Linked DNA regions of Homo sapiens: region 1 is linked to region 2. The links are contacts of gene promoters, found by promoter capture Hi-C in blood cells and fetal thymus (Javierre and others, 2016). All regions are on one chromosome and are shown on one strand. The core of a region is centred on a gene start or on the middle of the fragment in contact, and the rest is flanking DNA. Distances in the headings are between cores, read along the strand shown.

Region 1 (4,940 bases), core at 1,004-3,503, 3.1 Mb before region 2:
GACAAGTTTTATGTCTATCTTAGGAGATGAACTAGAATTACTTAATTCCAGCTGCCTTCTCAATAATCACACCAATGATAAAAACAGAAAGTAGAAAGCTAAATAATCAAAAGAATTTCAACTCAGTGCACACTTACAAGGTACCACACACGATGTTCTCTCCTTCAATCTGTTAAACATTCCCAAGTTTCAAAATCACAGAACTAGAATGAACGCATATCATACCACCCAGTTCAGCAACCAACAGTTTATTAAAGAAACACAGCCAAGGCACATTCAGAGTGCCATAGGAGATAAAACAGAAAGACACAGATTCTCACCATCAGGAAACTTACAATCTGGCTGAAAGAATGGTCAAAATAACACAACCTTTCTGAATTACTAACAGGTACAAAAAGCTATACGATAAATATGTCCATTGTATTCATATCCATTTCATGGATAATTTTTCTGTATTAGTACAGGCATATCATCTAAAGAAAACATAATACTTAGAAGAAACTAATTAGCTTACAAATTTACATTCTAAATGTTTCCAACAAACTGGATAGGGCCCAGGAATATGTACTGAGAAACTAGTTCTGTTCTGGTATTAACAAGAAGGGAGGGGTGGACAGGTTACTAAAGCTGCCAGGCCACAATGTCAACTACAACGTGGAAAAGACTAGCCAAAGAATGGCAAGTGTTTTTATTTCGTAAAAGCCAGTTTCAATTAACTGGTTAGTGACTACCTCAAGCACTCCGCTGAGACTGTTAAGATTCCTTTAAGTAAAAAGCTATGTCCTGTGTTCGTTGCCCTCAGAAGTTGGATGTATGTTTGAGATGGTGCTACTGACTTAACATAAGAGTGTTCCCCGGGTTGTTTTTCCAGTCTCACTTGTGATCAATGCCGGCAATTCAGCTCTCAACAGCTATAAAACACTACTGTGTAACTAAGTACTTCCCTGATTCTGAACAACAGATAATAACACCTAACACTTGATGTTTCTTATAAAGCTGGCACTGTTCTAACCACTTACCCCGTATTAACGCATATAATCCTCACAACAACCTCTCTGATACAGATTCTACTATCACCACCCCTGTTTTACAGAGGAAACAATGAGGCACTAGTTACCAGGTAGAAGAGCTTGCCCAAGGCTTTAAAGTGGGTGACACAACCAGAACCTGACCTTAAGCAGTCTGGCTCCAGAACTACTTTTTAACCATTCTGCTTACTGCTTCTTTGTCAACTGTACAGTGATCAAACCCAGACTTCAGTTATGTTAGTGCACTGTGTAAGCCAGGTGCCTGGGCTTCAGGAGAGTGTAAGTCAATGTTTTAGCTGCAGTCCTGAAATGTTTACTCCCTCCAAGGGGCACGGATTCTGGCGAATTGCACTCAAATTACCCATACCTTGGCCATCGGTACATTACCTCATTTGACATATATTTTAAATCAAAACAATCTCAAAAATCATCGTTCCACCACATAAAATAAACCCTCTGTCTAGAATGCTCAGGGAATGCAGGTTTTAGGGTTAAGACAATTCTCTCATTAACAGAACATTAGTCAGAAAATTAGAAGAGAGGTGGTGATTCCTAAAACGTAAGTCATGGAGAGATCAGCACTATGAAGAGAAAATCTGACAAGTGGTAATTTTAACGGGCTTTGCAACTGTTATTCTGAGCATCACCTCTCACAGTACAGGGGTGTAGAAGGCACATGGCACATGAGATTTAACTGAATGGTAAATACTAACCACCCTCACCGCCGCCACCCGCCCCCAGCACTAGTAGGAGGTTGATATTCTGAATAAATGCCACTTCCCAAGGGATTTACTGAATATGTCGTCTTATTAATCTTAAGAGAACATAAGCTTGGCAAAAAACAAACAAAAAAAAACAGACTTCAAGGAGTAACAGTACAAACTAATTTTTACATATGCTATACATATTACACTCCAATGTGTAGATTATCTTCAAGTATTTCCACTGCACCCTTTTACACATCACTGCACTTCAGATCACATACATTAAACCAACCGCTGGGCTTGTCTCCAAATTCAAAATACAGGTTATCAAATGAAATTCTGTATTTTTTGTATTTCCATCCCCAGTATCAACAATGTAACAAGAAATTTACACTCAAGCTTCTAAAGTAAAACATACAGACAATAGAACTACCTATAAAATAAAACTTAAATGGAATATTAACAGTCTGAAAGAACTCTTAGGAGGAAACCGTAAGTTAAAAGAAAAAGCATTCCGGTTGTTGAAAGAATGTTACTGACAGTGGTTAACAGGCTATGTTCCCCCAGCAACAAAGGGGTGGAGGACATGCACGCGCATTATATAATATGAATACACGATTGTTAGTCTGCATCTTTAAGCTTAATGTCTTTCTTATATTAAAGTTTTTAAAAGTTTTAATATATTCCTTCCAAATGAACCTCCTTGCACCCCACCTTGGAGGCCCTAATACTTACAAAATTCATGATTTCTAATCTCCTCTAGTCCCAGACTTAAAGGAACAAAATAAATCGTTTTTCCTAATACAGAATATTTTAAATGAACTACCATTAATAGGAATCATCATTTTTTTCACCAAAGGGCCAAATTCCCAGCTCTACATTTCCCATTCCTAAACTTTGTTTGCAATGAGGACTCATATAAATATTTGGGTTGTGTGCTCCTTTTTAAAGCAAGAAGCAATGACACCAGGTGTAAAGGCAGTGGTGTCATATAATCAAGACAATGAGACAGGTATTTACGGTTGGCTATTTATTAAACAGCTCTTTCGAGACTTAACCCAATGAGACCTATTAATTCCACCCATATGGTGCTTACCCTCCTCTGACTCCTGAAACTTCTTGTGTATGCATGAAAAGCCAAGGGCCATGAGAAACAGAGCAAGTCCCTTCTGTGTACTCATAACCAAATTTTTATGACGCACAAATTAAGCTCACTGCTTGAAACTTATAGACCACGTAACAGAAACCACAAAAAGGAAACTAAGTCCAGTAAGAGTAGTAAATATTTTTGTTACAATATTTTTTATTGGGTTACCCCTAGCTGCAAATTTCTTCCCCAGTTTTAGCTCTCTCCAGCGCAAATTTATTCTCAGACAGCAGGTCACGAGGCTCCGTCTTTAAACCCGCCTCAGTGCTATTGGCCACTGCCTAAGAGTGCTCTTCCACTTCACCCACTGATAACCTGTATCAAAACAACCCCAGCTGGGTCCCCTTCAGCCTTCTGAAGCAACCTCTCTAGAGCGCTCTTTGGCCTTTTATAGTGGAGGCATGTGATGAGAGTATTTGCACCAGCTGTTTCTAATTACCTCTCAAGCTGGGGCGAATGACTCAGCAACCCAACTTTTTAGAGAGTCATCCTACCTTGTTAACCAACCAACATACCGAACAACAGTAAACCACTTGACAGAAACATAGGTTAAACAACAATACAAGAATCACTACGCCAAAGTCACCCTACTCCAAGCTGACTCACCGGGAGCCTTTCTTCCCTAAGCTTCTTCAAGATGTCCAAAGGCAGAAGTGGCAAGTGCCTTCAAGCCCAGCCCAGCCCTTGCACCACTACCCAAAGACCAGGAAGAAGCAAGCCGACCTCTTCCCATTTCTCTGCTTGACTATGTGAAGCGCTCAAGTGCTCTGCCACTAACACATCTGGGATTTCCACCCTTTATCCTTCTGAACTGCATTCAATGCAGACCCTCTGATGTAAAGGGTGTTCAAATACATGATCAAATTCCCATAGCATCATCCATGGGTAACAGTCCCTACCCCTACACAATTCTCCAAAAAGCAAAGCATCCTACAAAACATTCTTTGTTCCTCCAAGCATGACATTGTAGCTCGTTTTCCTCATACACGTTCTTTCACAATTACTACTACACTTTACCTGGAATCAGCACAAGTTTAACGCAGAAGCCTCACTCCATAAAAGCATTCCGCACAATTCTACTCAATGACATGAAACTGCCGTGTAAGAATGAGAAAGCAACGGCACTCGTGTTACATTACACGAGCACAAAGCTGGTGTCTCCAGAATCAACGCCCACTCTCACCATATTGTGCGAGGCTTAATTACAACGCGTGGGCAAAACTCCAACAAAGGGAGTCCTGGGCTCTCCGGTCCCCAAAACCAGTCTTCGCTAAATCCAGCTCAGCACGGTGGCCTTCTCTCCCCAGCCACAAACTCGGCTTTTCTTACGCGATTCCACGCGCGACAGCCACCGGGCTGAGTAGACGCGAGGCTGGGCATGCGGTGGGAGGCGGCGGAGGACAATACGGGGCCCCAGCCGCGAGGGCGGTGCTGATGTGTCACAGCCCGGGCGGGCCGCGGGCGAGGGGCCGGGCTGGCGCCCGAGGGCAGGGAGGGGGGTGGGGCAGGGACCCCGCGGCCCCCAGCCCCCGCCCGCCCCGGGTAAAGTACGGCGCGCGCGGGTAAACAACAGCTCCGGCAGTGCAGGGGGTTCGGCCGCCGACGGGACGCCCCTTCCGGCGTCGCGGCCACTTCCAGGATCCCGGCCGCCGGCGCCCCCCGCGGGCCCCGATACGTGCCCCCCGCGCCCCGCCCAGCCCAGAAAGAGCCGCCCCCGGCCCGCCCGCGCCTTCACTGGACCTGTCCGCCGGCCTCCCCTCACAGGCCCGCGGCCCTGACCGCGCCAACCCTCCCGGAGAAGGGCCGGCGGGACGGCCGAGCCACTCACCAGAGCTGAGGCGCGGCGCGGCCCGACTGACTGAAGCGAGAGCGCCCGGCGGGCGGCGAGGGCAGCGGTCAGGTGACTCACTCCTTCCGCGCGGCCAGCCGCCCCCTCCCTTCTGCGCCGCTCTGCTGCCGCCACCTCGCGGCGCCAAAACCCCGCCCGCCCGCTGAAGGCCCCGCCCCCGGCGCCGAAGCCCCGCCCTGCCGCCCTCGAAGCCTCTGTCAGCGAACGAGCGC
Region 2 (4,449 bases), core at 1,240-3,739:
TTTTGAATTTCATGCTCAATAAAAGTTCCTTACTCTCTTTTTTTTTTTTTGAGACGGAGTCTCGCTCTGTCGCCCAGGCTGGAGTGCAGTGGCGCGATCTCGGCTCACTTCAAGCTCAGCCTCCCGGGTTCACGCCATTCTCCTGCCTCAGCCTCCCCAGTAGCTGGGACTACAGGCGCCCGCCACGACGCCCGGCTAATTTTTTGTATTTTTAGTAGAGACGGGGTTTCACCGTGTTAGCCAGGATGGTGTTGATCTCCTGACCTCGTGATCCGCCCGCCTCAGCCTCCCAAAGAAAAGTCCCTCACTCTTAAAGTTGCCTCCTCCTTCCCAGGGCTGGCTTCATGGGCATGCAACCCTGGAGAGTCTCACAGGCCCTGCGGTGGGAGGAGCCCCATGCTTGGTTTAACGCTCTGCCATTGCCATCTTAAAATTCTTAATTTAATTTTTTTTCTTTTTTTTGAGGTGGAGTCTCGCTCTGTCGCCCAGGCTGGAGTGCAATGGCACAATCTTGGCTCACTGCAACCTCCGCCTCCCAGGTTCAAGCGATTCTCCTGCCTCAGCCTCTGGAGTAGCTGGGATTACAGGCAGGAGTAACCACGCTCGGCTAATTTTTGCATTTTTAGTAGAGATGGGGGTTTCACCATGTTGGCCAGGCTGGTCTAGAACTCCTGACCTCAGGTGATCTGCCCACCTGGGCCTCCTAAAGTGCTGGGATTACAGGCATGAGCCACCAGGCCCGGCCTTAAAATTCTTAATAATGTAACAAAGGGTCTCACGTTTGCATTTTGCAGTGGACTCTGCAAGATTTGTAGCTTTGGACCACGTTTCTCTTTGCATTCAGATACCTTCTTTTTTGCCTTATTTGCTCATGCAGACCCGGAACAAATACGGAATTGCGGTGGGTAAATGTGGTGCAGAAAGTGAACAACTGGGTTTGTCCTGTCACTTTAGGCTTTTCCCTGCTGTCCCAGCTTCATGTCACTTACTTGCTATTAGATTTGGGAGTTCATTAGCTTCATTTTCCTGATGTATAAATAGGAATAATAGTAACAGCCTCTTTGGCTTTTGTAGGAAGTAAATGACATGAAGCGTATAAACAAATACTGCATGACAATAAATATTTGTCCTTATTTGTTGAGGACATCCAAAGGACATTCAGGGGCAAAAGTAATCCAAGAGTCAAGACTGAATGCCTAGTGCGGGAAAAGACACACAAGACAACATTTAGGGGAGCTGGTACAGAAATGACTTCCCAGGAAGGAAGTCTGTACCCCGCTGGCTGAGCCATCCTTCCCGGGCCTAGGCACCCTTGTCAGCGCAATGAGCAAGGGAGAGAAGGCAGGCTGCAGTGCAGCCCTCAGAAGGGCCAGAGCACTCCCTGGCTTCAGTCCTTCGCTCCAAGCCCTGTGTGGAGTGGGCTGTGGCTTGGTAACTAAATGCTACTTCAGGTCAAGAGCAGGGGATATATCTGGGCAGTTCTAGAGCATTCTAAACTATCTGGACACTAACTGGACAGTGGACGGTTTGTGTTTAATCCAGGAGAAAGTGGCATGGCAGAAGGTTCATTTCTATAATTCAGGACAGACACAATGAAGAACAAGGGCAGCGTTTGAGGTCAGAAGTCCTCATTTACGGGGGTCGAATACGAATGATCTCTCCTAATTTTTCCTTCTTCCCCAACTCAGATGGATGTTACATCCCTGCTTAACAACAAAAAAAGACCCCCCGCCCCGCAAAATCCACACTGACCACCCCCTTTAACAAAACAAAACCAAAAACAAACAAAAATATAAGAAAGAAACAAAACCCAAGCCCAGAACCCTGCTTTCAAGAAGAAGTAAATGGGTTGGCCGCTTCTTTGCCAGGTCCTGCGCCTTGCTCCTTTGGTTCGTTCTAAAGATAGAAATTCCAGGTTGCTCGTGCCTGCTTTTGACGTTGGGGGTTAAAAAATGAGGTTTTGCTGTCTCAACAAGCAAAGAAAATCCTATTTCCTTTAAGCTTCACTCGTTCTCATTCTCTTCCAGAAACGCCTGCCCCACCTCTCCAAACCGAGAGAAAAAACGAAATGCGGATAAAAACGCACCCTAGCAGCAGTCCTTTATACGACACCCCCGGGAGGCCTGCGGGGTCGGATGATTCAAGCTCACGGGGACGAGCAGGAGCGCTCTCGACTTTTCTAGAGCCTCAGCGTCCTAGGACTCACCTTTCCCTGATCCTGCACCGTCCCTCTCCTGGCCCCAGACTCTCCCTCCCACTGTTCACGAAGCCCAGGTGGGCCGTCGGCCGGGGAGCGGAGGGGGCGCGTGGGGTGCAGGCGGCGCCAAGGGCGCGTGCACCTGTGGGCGCGGGGCGCGAGGGCCCCTCCCGGCGCGAGCGGGCGCAGTTCCCCGGCGGCGCCGCTAGGGGTCTCTCTCGGGTGCCGAGCGGGGTGGGCCGGATCAGCTGACTCGCCTGGCTCTGAGCCCCGCCGCCGCGCTCGGGCTCCGTCAGTTTCCTCGGCAGCGGTAGGCGAGAGCACGCGGAGGAGCGTGCGCGGGGGCCCCGGGAGACGGCGGCGGTGGCGGCGCGGGCAGAGCAAGGACGCGGCGGATCCCACTCGCACAGCAGCGCACTCGGTGCCCCGCGCAGGGTCGCGATGCTGCCCGGTTTGGCACTGCTCCTGCTGGCCGCCTGGACGGCTCGGGCGCTGGAGGTGGGTGCCGCGCCTCGGAAGGCGGGGGGAGGCTGCACGGTGGGGACGCGATACCCCCCAAGACCTTAACCCAAGTCTTTAATGCAGAGAAGCCGGGGGTCCGTCAATGGGACCCCTCTCCTCTCCGCCCCCGCTTGCGGACGTCCAGCGCATCCCCGCTTTCGGCCCAGCCCTGCCCCAGGGAGTCGCGCTCCGGCCCGCTGAGAGGGAGCGGGCGAGGCGCTGGTCTCCCTGGTTCCGCGCCAGCCCGGGGCGAGAAGGGTAGGGGGCGACCCTGAGCCCAGACCCCGACTTAGTCCCTGCCTTGGAAGCGGGGGTCGGGGGAGGCGAGAGACATTCAGACAGGGGGGAAGGGGGAAGGAGCACGTGGGGAAAACCGAAAACGCAGCGTCCCTAAAGCCAGTCCTTCGCTCTTGAATCGTTGCCCTTTCCTTTCTCTTGGGCCCTGGGGAGGAGGAGGAGGAGTCGGGACAGCCCAGGAAGCTAGGAGCCCCTCGCTTTTCCCTGCGTTCTCCGCCTCGTTTCACCTTCCTCTCTCACCCCCATCCCCCTTCCTTGCTCCAACCTCTTTTCGCGGCTGCTGGCGGCGGCAGCCTGGGTGCGACCCTAGCCCGAGCCGGCGTCGGGGTCGCGCACCGCCTTCCACAGGCAAACTTTGTGCATGTCCGCGTCTCCCTTTTGTGTAACTTGCGAGAAATGGGAGGGGTCGGAGACCCATAGCCACCCCGCGCCTTCCCCAAGTCTGGACGTCCCGGGAGTTCGCTCGCACCCTAAGCTCTGTCTGAGAGGCAGAAGGTCCGCGGGAACAAAAGCCGCGACACCCCGCCCTCGCCGTGGGCCGAGCCGCGTTAGTCTCAGTGCGCCACCGAGGCTCCCGCCCGGCTCCCTTCCCGGGGCTGCGCGTCCGCCTGGGAGGGGGCAGAGACGCTGCCGGGGCTTCTGGCGGAGCCTCGGGGCCCCTCTGCTTCCCACCCTCGGATCACCTCCGAGGCTTAATTCTGTGCTGGGCTGTAAAGTCCTTGGCGGGGAGGAAATAAGGCGGAGAGTGGGATGTGCGTCTGGAAAGGGCAGTGGCGGATGGTGGGGAGGCACGGGCTCTGTCCTGTGCATCCAAGGAGGCGTTTGTCTGATTAAGGCGCGGCCTCTTCCCTGGCAGCTCTGGGGACTCTGGTTTAGTTCCCCTGGGGGCACAGGATGCTGGGGAGGGTCCGAAGGGTCTTTTTTTTAGGGTGCAGATAAAAGGATCGAATTGAGTGAAGATTAAGACGGAGAAGATGGCGCCTCTGCAGTGCAGCAAAGAAAAGCTGTGTGGAGGCTGCAGCCTAGTGAAATCCACCCACCACTAGGTGTATAACAAGTCTTCCCCATTCATCCAACTCTCGAACATTCAGCTAACGCCTGTGCACAATGACTGTTTTTCTTTACATCTGAAGATGCTTAGAAGTTGTTTGCATGACAGTTGGGCCAGAGGAGGCTGTATTTCACTTCGGACTTCGGTTGGGTTCCTGTTTGGCATCTTAACATTTGCAACCTTCCTTACCCGTTTTTCCCCTCTTTTCCCCCAGCCTCCTAGTAATTTTCCAAAAGAAAAAAAGCAATTTCCGGGCAGATGTTTTCCTGTAATTCCACTGAGGCTGTACAGACTATCACACCATTAGTTTTTTAGTTTCTAATTTGCAAGGTCATTGAACTTTTTTCTCTTCTGATTTTTACCCACAAGTGGCTCAGGAATCACCTTAGGGCTAGTTAAGACA

Evidence for each region. Contacts are between HindIII fragments. The CHiCAGO score rates a contact against its expected background, and 5 or more counts as called.
Region 1: a contact is called between a fragment that was not itself captured here and the fragment with the promoter of APP in region 2, in 1 of 17 cell types (fetal thymus). The highest score is 7.8, in fetal thymus.

What each region holds. Positions count from the first base shown.
Region 1 is chr21:29,298,721-29,303,660 of GRCh38, reverse strand. It overlaps BACH1 (BTB domain and CNC homolog 1), which reads right to left and starts at 4,739. Exons shown (of 5, transcript NM_001186.4): 1 at 4,708-4,739. It overlaps LOC105369299 (a long non-coding RNA gene), which reads left to right and starts at 4,925. Exons shown (of 2, transcript XR_937652.3): 1 at 4,925-4,940. RefSeq lists silencers at 1,059-1,353, 4,305-4,940 and an enhancer at 2,965-3,074. The HindIII fragment of the contact is 240 bases long and covers 2,134-2,373 here.
Region 2 is chr21:26,168,810-26,173,258 of GRCh38, reverse strand. It overlaps APP (amyloid beta precursor protein), which reads left to right and starts at 2,489. Exons shown (of 18, transcript NM_000484.4): 1 at 2,489-2,695. The coding sequence starts at 2,639. It overlaps APP-DT (APP divergent transcript), which reads right to left and starts at 2,392. Exons shown (of 4, transcript NR_186396.1): 1 at 2,207-2,392. RefSeq lists silencers at 2,137-2,966, 3,467-3,736 and enhancers at 2,754-3,278, 3,777-3,986. The HindIII fragment of the contact is 2,642 bases long and covers 2,004-4,449 here.